2 separate regions of the Homo sapiens genome follow, and region 2 is linked to region 1. Evidence: promoter capture Hi-C in 16 types of primary human blood cells and fetal thymus (Javierre and others, 2016). All regions are on one chromosome and are shown on one strand. Each heading gives the region's core, a stretch centred on a gene start or on the middle of the fragment in contact. The rest is flanking DNA. Distances are from core to core; before and after follow the strand shown. Region 1 holds the start of ZNF639 (zinc finger protein 639). Region 2 has its middle 64 kb from the start of LINC00501.

Evidence for each region. Contacts are between HindIII fragments. The CHiCAGO score rates a contact against its expected background, and 5 or more counts as called.
Region 2: a fragment that was not itself captured here is called in contact with the fragment with the promoter of ZNF639 in region 1 in 1 of 17 cell types (fetal thymus); the score reaches 7.3 in fetal thymus.

Annotation. Positions count from the first base shown.
Region 1 is chr3:179,320,226-179,327,008 of GRCh38, forward strand. ZNF639 (zinc finger protein 639) reads left to right here and starts at 2,806. Exons shown (of 6, transcript NM_001303426.2): 1 at 2,806-3,066. RefSeq lists silencers at 2,536-2,975, 3,006-3,145 and enhancers at 3,716-3,765, 4,807-4,906. The HindIII fragment of the contact is 4,241 bases long and covers 1-3,901 here.
Region 2 is chr3:177,355,111-177,361,893 of GRCh38, forward strand. No RefSeq gene overlaps it. Among named protein-coding and RNA genes, the nearest start is that of LINC00501, 64 kb to the left of the region's middle. RefSeq lists enhancers at 3,005-3,204, 3,325-3,564, 3,451-3,745, 4,419-5,260, 4,771-5,065 and 1 more. The HindIII fragment of the contact is 2,538 bases long and covers 2,151-4,688 here.

The sequences.
Region 1 (6,783 bases), core at 1,556-4,055:
AGAACTGCAGCTACTCAGGCCCTAGTCCAGATTTACCCAGTTCTCTTCATCCCATATCCCAAAATAAATTGTAGACAAACGAAAAAGTTAAAGCAAAAAATGCAACCAGATCCTGCATAGAAGAAAAGATTATCTCAGCAAAAGGCCAAAAATAGAACTTGCAAAGGAAAAGATTAATAGACTTGCTTTCACTACAATTTAAAATGTTTGCACCACTAACAAAATTAAAAAACAACAAACTGCAATTACGCCTGTAATCCCAGTACTTTCGGAGGCCGAGGTGGGCGGATCACCTGAGGTCAGGAGTTTGAGACCAGCCTGGCCAACATGGTGAAACCCGTCTCTACTAAAAATACAAAAATTAGCCCCGTGTGGTGCCACGCGCCTGTAATCCCAGCTACTCGGAGGATGAGGCAGGAGAATCGCTTGAATCTGGGAGGCGGAGGTTGCAGTGAGCCAAGATCACGTCATTGCACTCCAGCCTGGGCGAAAGAGCAAGACTCTGTCTCAAAAACACACAAACAAACAAACAAAAAACATAAAGAATGCTCGTGCTATACTAATTGGAAAAAAGAACCTGTTAGAAAAAAACACAGCCAATATTCTAATTTTGAAAACAAATTTTTATGTCAGTATAGGTATAAAAATAACGGAAAGATAGAAAGCAAAATGTTACCATTGATGAGCTCAGGGTTGTGAGATTATGGTAAATTTACTTTTGCTCTTTGTACTTTTCTGTTGTCTCCATTCTGTACTAAAAACGTAACTATTTTCTAATCAGGAAGAAATTAAGTGGCCGGGCGCGGTGACTCGCGCCTGTAATCCCAGCACTTTAGGAGGCCAAGGCGGGCGGATCACTTGATGCCAGAAGCTCAAGACCAGCCTGGCCAATATGGTGAAATCTCAGCACCACTAAATATACAAAAATTAGCCAGGTGTGGCAGCTCGCGCCTGTAATCTCAGCTAATCTGAAGGGTGGGGCACGAGAATTGCTTGAATTTAGGAGGTGGAGATTGCAGTGAGCCGATATCCCATCTCTGTACTGGAGCCTGGGCGACAGAGTGAGACCGTGAGAAAGAAAAAAGAAAAAAAAGAAAAGGAAGGAAGGAAAGGAAGGAGAAATTAAGCTATTCTACAAGTGTGTGAAAAAGTTGGAAGAACGATGTTTTAATAGCCCTGAATCAAATTTATAATAGTATTTAACAAACTCTACAATTTAGCACTCTTGAGATTTTAGGGTTTTATCCCAGCTATCACCCTCCCTTGGAGCGGGAGATGAGGAAAAGAGGGACCCAAAAATGAAACTGAAAAACACTCCAGCTAATCAAGAACTTGAAATTGCTTGCAATTTGTGACTATGTTAAACAACATCTAAACAAAGTCAAGCTCCTCTAAGTGCAAACAATACGTGGGATGCTGGGGAGAGTGTGCGTTTACTTTCACTACAAAATGTTTTGGAGTAAAACTTCATTTTGAAATATAAAGATTTTGTTGGACACAAGGCTATGTGGTAAGGCAAAATGGTAAGATGGTGGCATGACACCCCCTTGTGGTTTCCACCGATTCCCGGTTCTGTGCTAGATACTAACTATTCTAGGATTTAAAAATGTCTCTACATTTCTTCGAACTTTAATTCGGGCCATACTAGCATTCGTGAGCATTTATTTGAGCTGAGTACGCACATAAAACTTAGGAGGTCATAAAAACTGAGCCTCACAAACAAGTAGTGTCTCTTTCAAATATAGCTTTATCTCCTGGGGGATGGTGAAGGGATCAGAGTAAAGTCTGTGATTATTACTTTCCAGCGATTGATTGGTTGATTGGCATGTGGTTGTCAGAAAAAGCAGTGGACGTGAACAAAGAGACATCATTGCAGCCCTAACTATCCGAGTGACCTTGGGTACCTGATAATCCACATGGCTCTCAGTCATCCTCTTAACCGTTTGAACCTCAGGGGTTTAGGCTACCAAAATGAATTAAGACCCAGTCTTTAGCTTCTCACACATTTACTTTTCCATTTTGTAAAATGTGACTAAAAACCTCAACTCATTGTCAAAAGGACTGAATTAAACATATCACCACACTTGCACAGAGATCATTTATGGAACCATGTTCACAAATTTATTTATGCTCGTGTAATTTAATCATTTCTACAGCTGCTCAAAGAAAGTCAAAGTCGAGAAAGGACTTAAATCGTCGAGTCCAGTCCCCCTTAACTCCTCATTCATTCCACTATTTCTCGAGCCAAGGAATCGGGTGAAACTCAACAACGACTCGCAGTCTTCAGGTTTCACCCTCTTGCCCTGAGGGCAGCATCCTAGCCCTAGGTGGTTCTCTGGTGTGGCCTCAGTAAAACCGTGACGAGGTCCTCGGCCTCTCTGTCCCCAACAGGCGGCTGGCACACTTCGGGGTCTGAGATGCCATCTGCCTTGCCTAACCTGGGCAAGACCACTCGCGTCCTTTCCCTTGAGGAGCAGCGTGGGAAAGGTGCCGCTGCGCGCCACGTTTCTCCCAGTTCCCCAGGGCTTGAAGGGGCGGTGGAGGCGGGCGGGATAAATTCGCTGGCCGCCTGGCGTGGAGTAATCCTAGAGGGTGGGATCGCCCTCGGGGCTCGGGAGGGGCTCTTCCCCGCCCAGAAGGAGACTGCGGCGGCGCAAGGCCTCCGGCAGGGGGCGCGGGCCGCTGGGCCTCCCCCGGGGCTGCGGGCCGGTGGTCCCTCCCAGGCCGCGTGTGCGGTGCGTTCGCGCAGCCCGCTCCCTGCCCCCACCTCACCTCGTCACCTCCCCGCCCTCTCGGCGGGCCCCTGAGGTGCGCGGCGCAGGCGCGGAGCGTGGCGGCCAGGGCAGTGCGGCCGCGGAGCCTAGGCCAGGGGCCTGGCGCTCAGGGCGTGGGGCGCGCGGGGAGGGAGAGGGGTCGGCCCAGCACAGCGTCCGGGAGCGCTAGGGCCGGAGCAGCGCTGCCCGCCGCCGTGCGTCCGCGGGAAGGACCGCGCGGCCCCTCCGCCTGCGCTCTCGGCCGCCGCCGCCTCTGCGTGGGCCGGCCGGGAGGGCCTCGGGGGACTGACTGGTGAGTGTGAGGGAGGAGCGGGTGGGTCGGGCGCTGGACTGCTCCAGGGGACGCGGGCGTGCGGGCGCATCTTCTAACGGGAGAGGGCGGGAGAGACCGGAGCTCCCTTTATACGGAAACTCTGCCTTCGTTATATGGCGGGATGGCGTTCCCCTCCCCCATCCCGAAGGCAGTTCCACCCCCTGCGCAGGACGCCTTGGCCGGGCTCCCCTCGGCCCCCTGCTGCCGTTGTCTTTACGGAACCTTTGGTGTCGGGGCTTGGAAGTCTCCTTGGCGCCGGCTTCTGGGCCCGGGCGAAGCTGGTGCGTGGCGCCGGGGTGGAGGCGGCTAAGTCCCAGGGACTTCTGCCCTGCGCCTCCGACGGGCATTTGTCTGGCTGCGTCCGGGCTCGGGACGATCCTGGGTCCTCGCTGGCGCTGCGGCCCTGCCCGGCGGCTTCGTGACCTCCGGCGGCGAATCCCCGGGCTCGCGCAACGAGTTGTAGCCGCGGAGAGCAGGCGTCGATGCTGGCGCCCAAAGCCTCCAGCCTGAGAGTCGCCTCACTCGTGTGACGGTGCTTAGAAACCCCCTTTTTTGGTTTTGTCTTTAAGTACTGTCTAGGGAAACGAATCATTTGAAGCAGTTTATGCCTTTTTTGTTTTTTTCGAAGAGAAAGATTTATGCCGGACTGAAAAATAGCGAATCAAGTATTTAGTGACCGTGTGATATTGCAGTAAAGACTGCCTCCACGTTGGACATGTAGTGGATTCTAGTTCAGGCTCTCCTGCAACATGTTTTTGTTTCAATTCTTTTACAATTTAAAGCATATGCTTATTTTAATGAGAACGAAAAAGAAAGCTTAACTCTTTTTAAACTCGTTAAAAATGGAGTTATTTACTGTAAAGACGTCTTACAGCAATTAGGAAGAATATACATTGCATGAAAGGCCTTTTGAAACGTTTATCTATTTGATGATTGCTGACTGCCTGTTGTATGTATTCTATTTTGTGCATAGACTTTCTTGTTGGTTGAAAAAAATGACAGGTGGAAAGATGTTGGTTTCTAGGTGATATAAAAAATTTTTAAACATTTTTCTGATTTTTCTGCAGTGACACGTGTTACATATGTCGTTTGTATTTCAGAGGGAGGGGGGACTGTGATAGGTTGCTTGTGATTCAGAATCTTCCTGCTAAGAAGACTAGTGAGCAAATGTTTATGACATCCTTGAGTAGAAAGCTAAGTTTTTTCAAGGCTGTTATGCACACAAAAGGCACATAAAAATGATTGCTAAAATGAAGGATGGTTAGCATTTTTGGTCTTGAGTAGGCATCACCATTGTGCTGAAAGGAAGTCCGATAGACATTTGGTTATCGTTCGGCCCTAAGTAGGAGTCAGACCCTTCCTGATCCGTGTGCCTCCTCCTCTCACCTAACAGCCTGAATCCAGGCCAGCTTGCAACGTTGATTTTAATACCACGCTTGGTTTCCTTTTCTTACTTTTATTCTTCAAGTTGCAAAGAACTTGAGATGCATTCTGAAATAACAAGAGACTACTTAACATGTTCGGCTGAGTGTTTTCAGTGTTCTCCCTGATACTTTTAGAGTATTTAGAACATGAAGTGTGAAGCTTTGGGCTATATGAATCGTAATAGCTCTTCTCTTTTTGATTTTTGAATGCAGTGAATTGAGATGGTTACTCAAGGAATGATTGTTTACATTGTTAGGTGAGGCGTTTGATTTTATTCTTTTTTCTTTCTTTCTTTCTTTTTTAGACAGAGTTTCACTCCTGTTACCCAGGCTGGAGGACAATGATGTGATCTCGGGTCACCACAACCTCCGCCTCCCGGATTCAAGCGATTCTCATGCCTCAGCCTCCCGAGTAGCTCAGATTACAGGCATGTGCCACCACGCCCGGCTAATTTTGTATTTTCAGTCGAGACGGGGTTTCCCCATGTTGGTCAGGCTAGTCTTGAATTCCCGACCTCAGGTGATCTGTTCGCCTCGGCCTCCCAAAGTGCTGGGATTACAGGCGTGAACCACTGCACCCGGCGAGGTGAGGTATTTTATATATTGGTATCATTTCTGTACATTTCATGGTTGTCTGTTTCTTTAGGCTATTCTGTTCCCCTTCTCCCAACTGGTAGCTAAGAACTGGAAGCAAGATGTGCATGCATTTTCATCTCTGGTTCTCCCACTTATTAGTTGACTTAACTTTCACTAAGGCTGTTTCCACATCAGTAAAAATGTAAATGGGTTTGATAGTAACTCCTCCATGTACCGCACAGGACCATTTTGAAGATGAAATAGAATAAGGGTTAGGAAAATGCTTAATAAACTGAAAAGGCCGGGCGCGGTGGCTCACGCCTGTAATCCCAGCACCTTGGGAGGCCGAGGCGGGCAGATCACGAGGTCAGGAGATCGAGAACATCCTGGCTAACACGGTGAAACCCCGTCTGTACTAAAAATACAAAAAATTAGCCGGGCGCCTGTTGTCCCAGCTACTTGGGAGGCTGAGGCAGGAGAATGGCATGAACCCGGGAGGCGGAGCTTGCAGTGAGCCAAGATAGCGCCACTGCACTCCAGCCTGGGCGAAAGAGCGAGACTCTGTCCGAAAAAAAAGTAAAAATAAAATAAACTGAAAAAGCACTATCTCATTCCCTGCTGTATTATATCACTTCAGTGCTGATATACCCAGAACTTAGTGAAGCAGCAAAAATAGTATGTGCACCTCAGCTAGAACACCTGTCATGTGTATCACCTTGGTGTTAAGAGCATTATAGGCCGGGCGCGGTGCCTCGTGCCTGTAATCCCAGCACTTTGGGAGGCTGAGGTGGGCGGATCACTTGAGGTCAGGAGTTCAAGACCAGCCTGGCTAACATAGTAAACCCCCGTCTCTACTAAAAATACAAAAATTAGCTGGGTGTGCTGGCGGGTACCTGTAATCCCAGCCTCCTGCTGGCGGGCGCCCGTAATCCCGGCCACTCAGGAGGCTGAAGCAGGAGAATCGCTTGAGCTGGGGAGGCAGAGGTTGCAATGAGCCAAGATCGTGCCACTGCACTCCAGCCTGGGTGACAGAGCAAGACTCCGTTTCAAATAAATAAATAGATTAATAAATAAAGTTGGGTAAACCTTTATTCAAATCCCAACCCCAGCATTTACTGAGTATCTAGCTTTGACTTTACTGTGCCTCAGTTTCCTCAATAACAGGAACTATAATTTTGAGAGGGTGATGTGAATTTTGCATCTCATACGATTACATAGGATTAAATGAGATAAAGTATGTTCACAGCCTGGTACATAATTGGTGGTCAGTAAATTATTATTATCACTTTTACTTTTTTCTTTTTTTGTTTTGTTTTGATTTTTTGTTTTTGAGAGAGAGTCTTGCTCTGTTGCCCAGGCTGGAGTGCAGTGGCACGATGTCAGCTCACTGTAGCCCTCCGCCTCCCAGGTTCAAGCCATTCTCCTGCCTCAGCCTCTTGAGTAACTGGGATTGCAGGTGCGCACCATCACACCCGGCTGATTTTTGTATTTTTAGCAGAGACGGGATTTCACCATATTGGCCAGGCTGGTCTCGATCTTTTATTTCTTAAATAAATAATCTATAAGGGCTGTAACAGTTTAAAGTTTATAATTTGGGCCAGGCAAGGTGACTCACGCCTGTAATCCCAGCACTTTGGGAGGCCCAGGTGGGTGGATCACCTGAGGTCAGGAGTTTGAGACCAGCCTGGCCAACATG
Region 2 (6,783 bases), core at 2,170-4,669, 2.0 Mb before region 1:
AGGTGGGCAGATCATGAGGTCAAGAGATCGAGACCAGTCTGGCTAACACGGTGAAACCCCGTCTCCACTAAAAATACAAAAATTAGCTGGGCGTGGTGGCGGTGCCTGTAGACCCAGCTACTTGGAGGCTGAGGCAGGAGAATCGCTTGAACCCGGGAGGTAGAGGTTGCAGTGAGCTGAGATCACGCCACTGCACTCCAACCTGGTGACACAGCAAGACTCCGTTTCAAAAAAAAAAAGAAGAGACATGAGGCCTGGTGTGTTGGCTCATGCCTATGCCTGTAATCCCAGCACTTTGTAAGGCTGAGATGGGTGGATCACGAGGTCAGGAGTTTGAGACCAGCCTGGCCAACATGGTGAACCCCATCTCTACTAAAAATACAAAAATTAGCCAGGTGTGGTGGCAGGTGCCTGTAATCCCAGCTACTCAGGAGGCTGAGGCAGGAGAATCACTTGAATCCTGGAGGTGGAGGTTGTAGCGAGCCGAGATCACTGCATTGCGCTCCATCCTGGGCAATAGAGTGAGACTCCGTCTCAAAAATAAATAAATAAGAGACATGAGAAAGATGATTTCTCTCTCTACTACGTGAGGATATAGCAAGAAGGTGTTCACCTGCAAACCAAGAAGAAGGTTCTCACCGGGAACTGAATTTGCCAGCCCTGTGACCTTGGACTTCCTAGCCTCTAGAACTGTGAGAAATAAATGTGTTATTTAAGCCACCCTGTCTATGGTTGTGTCAGGCTGTTTTTGCATTGCTATAAAGAAATACCTGAGGCTGGGTAAATTATATAGAAAAGAGGTTTAATTGGGGCATCGTTTTGAGACAGTACAGGATATGTGGTGCTGGCATCTGCTTCTGGGGAGGCCTCAGGAAGCCTACAATCATGGAGGAAGGTGAAGGGGAGCAGGCACGTCACATGGTGAGAGCAGGAGCAAGAGAGAGTGCAGGGAGGTGCCACACACTTTTAAACAACCAGGTCTCATGAGAACTTATTATTGTGAGAATAGCACCAAGAAATTCATGAGTGATCGGCCCCAAACACCTCCCATCAGGCCCCGCCTCCAACACTGGTGGATTACAATTCAACATGAGAGTTGGAGGAGACAAACATCCAAATTGTATCAATGGTATTTTTTGTTATAGCAGCCTGAACGATCTAAGACAGATATAGAGAAGACAGATATAGAGGAGCCAGCTTAGGAAGGGCCAGAGAGTCTTCCAGGCAGAGGGAACCAACTCTAAGAGCAGAGGCCTTAAGATAGGAAGAAGTAAAGTGGTGAAAGAAAAGGGTCTCATGTGGCAGGGGTGGCCTGAGCTAGGAGAAGGTGGAGGGAATGAATAAAAGGAGGAAATGACCTAAGGCATAGGAGGCCTAGACAAGGAGTTTGAGTAGTGCTCTCAGTGTAGTGGGATTTTGGCAGAGGTTACTGCCCCTGAGCAGAGGAGAGATGCAGATGTCTTTGTTGCATGGTGGCAGTATAGATGGAGAAGGGCATGCATACAGACAATTTTGGAGGGAAACCAGCTGATGGATTGGGTGTAGTGAATGACAGAAAAGAAAAAATCAGGGCTGGGCATGGTGGCTCAAGCCTGTAATCCCAGCACTTTGGGAGGCCGAGGTGGGCAGATCACCTGAGGTCAAGAGTTTGAGACTAGCCTAGCCAACCTGGTGACACCCCATCTTTACTAAAAATACAAAAATGAGCTGGATGTGGTGGTGGACGCCTGTAATCCCAGCTACTGAGGAGGCTGAGGCATTAGAATCCTTGAACCCAGGAGGCGGAGGCTACATTGAACCAAGATCATGCCACTGCACTCCAGCCTGGGCAACTGAGCGAGATTCTGTCTCAAAAAGAAAAAAAAAAAAATCAGGAATTGTCTCTGGGGCATGAGCAGCCAGCTGGATGTGGTACCATTATCTGGAAGTGAGATATCTAGAAAGAGGGAGAATGTAAGGCATAAGGATAAGAGAAAAAGTGGGGGTGGGAAATAGACACTGCTTGGAAAACAAAGTAACATCAGGGAGGTCTGGAAATAAAATGTTTCAAGTAGTTGGAAAGTCAACCAGATAAAATGCTGCTGAGAGACAGCAAGGGGTGCAGACTGAGAAATCATTAGTCTTAGCACTTACTCTTCCATAACCCTCAAAGCTTGTCTAACAGTGATTCTTTTCTGCCTTTCTCCTTCATTATATGATAAATTGCTAGAGGGTTTAGACCTCCTTTTAAATTCACCTTTATCTCTCTGGGCTCAACAGGGTGCCTTAGGAACAGGGTAGACTGCACAGTTCCTGACTGAAAATAACACTGGCAAGGAAACACCCCAAGGTGCTATCAGCTGCCAGATGCCAGAAGGAAATGGAAGGGCCTGGACTGCTCCCTAAAGAGCCTGACCCAGAAGCGGTGTGTAACAGGTTCCACTCAATGCCTTATAGGCTGAAAATTGCTCTGTCTTCTCAGAGCTAGAAAGGGTGTTCAGATAAGGCAGGGTGGGACCCTGACTCATGGACACACAATTAGCCGGCTTTTGTCTTTGAATCTGACTGGAAGTGACTCATGAGCTGGAAAAAAACCCTTTGGAAACAAATGAAGGGGGAAAAAAGGAGGGTAAGCCACGACTGCATTTTACTCTGTTAAAATGCAGATCTGCTGTCCTATAAATGTAGAATACTGTACATTTCCTCAGCCTCCCTCCAACAAAGACCCAGGGGAAATTATTAAGCCTGACAATTCACTCATTTTCTCCAAGATTTTTATTAAATGCAATTTAGAGGGGATAAAGTTTCTTCTCTTTTCTCTTTCTATTCACTTGAATAAGCCCTAATTACCACTAGGGTACAATAAATGGGCTTCTAGAAGTCTGTGGCAATTGGCGATGCTTCCCCTTTAAATTAACCAGTTGAAGCCTCCAGTTTCAACAGCCACCAGGGCACTTCCCGTCCACTCACAACTTGCTCAGTGCAATCTGAAGAGCATTTATTGAGCACCTTGTTATGGGGCACTGACATATGCTGCGGAGGATAGAAGACTTCTCGGGGGGTTATAATGGGGCTGGGGAGCTCTTGAACTCAACTGACATACTGTGTAAGTTAAACTAGTAAATGCCATGGGATTTTTGGATTAGAAGCAACAAAAACACAAACTAGGTTAAACAATAAGAATTTGTGGCAAAAAATAATGGGCTGTCGCAAGGAATCGGGGGCAGGCAGGGCTGTACCAGGGACACAGGAACCGATGCTGCCAATAACATTAGACTCCTGTTGGCCTCAGCGCTCTCTCCCAGCCTGTCTGGCTGTGGCTGAGGCTCTATCTTTGTTTTCTGCTCGATCTTTATCTCTGTTTCTGCCTTCAGATTGGCCTTGCCTCTCCTCTCCTGACCATGGGAAACATGGTCATGTATGTTATAATATCTTGCAGTTTTAGCCCTGGGGAGAAACTGACTTTTTCACTTCCAGTTTCAAAATTTCCCAAGAAGGCTTTTGATTGGATTCAAATATGTCAGCTCTTCCCGCTGGGACCAATCCCCTGTGGCAAGGTGGGGGAGGGAAATTTGAGAAGGGCCGTGAATGGTCCAGCTTAGGTCAGAGGTACAGTTTCCACGTCCCCACCCCCACCCCCGCCCCGTCAACAAAACAGCTCTGCCCTGTAAGCCTGTGGGTGTGGGTGAAGGTGGAAGTGGGTCGGAAGAGGCTGCGGGCTCCACTTTGCCAGGAGTGTAGGGGGAAGGGCTGAGTTGAGGAAACAATGGGTCTAGCACTTCTGCTGACCTTGTTTTCAGAAACAACCACAGGGCCTCTGGCCCCAGTGGAACTTGACTCATAAAGGCGAGAGACTTGACTATTGAAAAAGGTCTCCTATGAAATCTGAATTTCACTTAATCCTCAGAACAACTGTTGAGGGGGTTGTTACTACTCCCATTTTAAGACGCGGGCTGTAGAGAGGGTAACCACCCTGTCCACATTCACACAGCGAACACGTGGTGGGGCAGGGCTCAAGTCCAGGCGATTCCAAAGTCCCCCCGTGCTGTTTGCGCCACGCGGTGCTCCCACCAAGCCCACTCCGCGGGGAGAAAAACCATAGGCCTCGGAGGAGGAGCGGCTCCTCGCAGTGGGGTGGGGCAGAGGCCAGCATGAGGCCTTGTTCACTGGAGGATTCCACAGGCCTGGAACGGAAAGAATGAGAGCTCTGCAGGCAGGCAGAGCCCAGGGCGCCCAGTGCCCCCAGGCTGCGACAGCCAAGTCGGTGGGCGCGCATGGCGGGGCTTGAAGGAAAGGTCCAGAGCCGGTGGGAAAGGCCACGCCCCGGGGTAGAGCGCTTCCTTCCAGATCCCGGCCTTTAACTGCAATTCCGTTTTAAGGGCAACCCTGCCCGGTTCACACCTAGCCTTGAAGATGACAGATTGCACTGTGAGCAATTTGCAGGGTGAGAACGGGAGCCTACGACTCCGCACCTGCACTGCCAGAGCCATAAATGCAGCAAATCATGGCCTATAAAATGTCACCACTGCTGAAGTGCAATTTTCCAGGGGTCTTCTGCAGAGGGAACTCCACCACGGAGAGCGACCCTCGGCTCTGCAGCCTAAGAGGAAGGCCCCTGCAGGGTGGGGGAGGGAACAGGGAGGTCTTCCTCCCCATCCCCTTCGTGCCACTGCTCCCCCCTTTGTGACCCCACTCTGCCACGTGGTAAAAGCTTCCGGGGGGAGGCATTAGTTATTTCTGTCTGAGGAGTTTTTGACCAAACGTAAACATCAGAGGAGCGGGAACCCGAGCCCCGCCTGGGCTGGGCGGCAGCGACCCCGACGCCGCGGCGGCAGAGCCGGAGCTCGAAGCAGCCGCCGCTGTTGCGAGCCGCCCCTCCCCCGCCAGGCTGGCGAGCCCATTTTCGCTTGGCCGGTCTCCGCGCTGCCGGATGGATTGCGCCCCACCCCCGCTCCTCTGCTCAGTCATTCAGACTTGGAAAGTCAATAACACGCTGACATCATCAGGGGTTTGTGTATTATTACACGGCTACTTTCCAGAGTACCTGGCATTATCTAAGAGAGGAGCACTCCGGCTGCCCAAGAAAGGGCCTGAACTGGGAGCTTGGCGGCCTCGGGGAGGGGCGGCTGCTCAGAGCCAGGCCTTTCCCTAGTGGGGAGGGCATCTGCAAGGCACAAATTAGAAACAGACTATGAGCTTTTGCTTCACTAAATGCAGATGCACTTTAGATATCGATACATGCTTCATTTTGCCTTCGGGTGCACTTATAAATCATCCTTAAGTGACCTCTATTTCTACCAAAGACATCCACTTGGTCTTTAAGAAGCATTCTTAGTGATCCTCACAAAGGAAAAAAAAAAAAAGGAGATATCTTCTGTGACAGGAAGCCAAAGGCTGATTTTCTTTTTTTTTTTTTTGAGACTCTTGGAGTGTGTGTGTGTGTGTGTGTGTGTGTGTGTGTGTGTGCGCGCGCGCGCGCGCGATTCTCTGTTATGTAATCGCCATCACGGGTGATTAGGTCTTCTAGGTCTTTCCCTCCAGGGCTGAACTGGATGGTTTGGTTGCTGTGTTTTTCTTAAGCCTCACACAGGGCAAACACACATGAAAAACATGTCCCAGATTTATGGCGCAAAACTGCTCTCCAAGCAAATTGCCTTAGAAGACTGTCTCGGTTTTGGAGGAAGGAAATAGATGAATTTGTTGCTAATTAAGACTCCTTATCTTACTACTCTGGCATTTCCTTTTTTCTAGAACGAATTTTTAAAAATAATTTTATGTAGTTTAGATGTTCCCTCCCTTCCCCCTTGCTGTAATGGTACTTGAAATAGCTTAAATAACTAATTGTATAGACAACTGTACTTTTGTTCTACACACACACACACACACACACACACACACCAGTTAACGTGAAAGGCAGTAACTCATACAACATGGTACCTTTTCTGTTTGGCCATACAGACTGTTTCCTTCTTTACACACACAGGGCTGATCTCATTTAAATTCTCTTAGCATCTTAAATTGCAAAAAATGGCAGCCAGCTGAAAACTGGCTACCTGGAGAATTACAAGGGGAGAGAGCTGTTCTTTGGCCTCATCTTAATCTCTCTGTACCTCAAGCAGGGAGTCCATCTCTGATAAAAGTCTTTAGAGCTCCCCAGGAGGAAGCGAAGCAGACATGTTTTTCAACAATGTAACAATTTCCCTATGTGTACTTGATCATTTCGGGAGAACTTGTAGTAGATTATGACTACTTCCCTCCAGATGGTCTGACGGAAAAACTCTCCCACCAGACTTGCACTTCTAAAATCACTTCCCCAGGCCTGGCCCTCCCACCCCACCCCCATTTCCCCTTTCGGAGGTGCAGGCAGCTGGGGAGGCCTGGAACACCAGACCTCCAAGATGGCCCAGCATGTGTTGAGTCTGGAGGCTGAAGCTGCTGAAGTGGGGAAGGGTCGGGGCACTCGCCTCCAACTGGGAGCTATTTACCTAGGGGGTTTCCCTCAGCTCAGAGAGGAGCATGCAGACCTGACAGTCTGTCTTTTTGGTTCTCAAGATGAAGAAACTCTTCAGTCTCTAAGCACTTCCGGTTTTTAGCCCAGCTGACCCTCTCGTCTTTGCCTTAGCCTCTCCCAGACACAACTGCCTACTATAGGGATCCGTGCTAGGGAAGGACGTGGGCCACCTTGCTTTGGGTGCTGAGCTTCGGCAGCGGGCAACGGACTTCCTACCCTAGAGTTTCTGCCTAAGCAGGGGAGGACAAAGTCTGGAGGATCAGCTTGGATAGAACCTGATAAGTAGGAGGCAG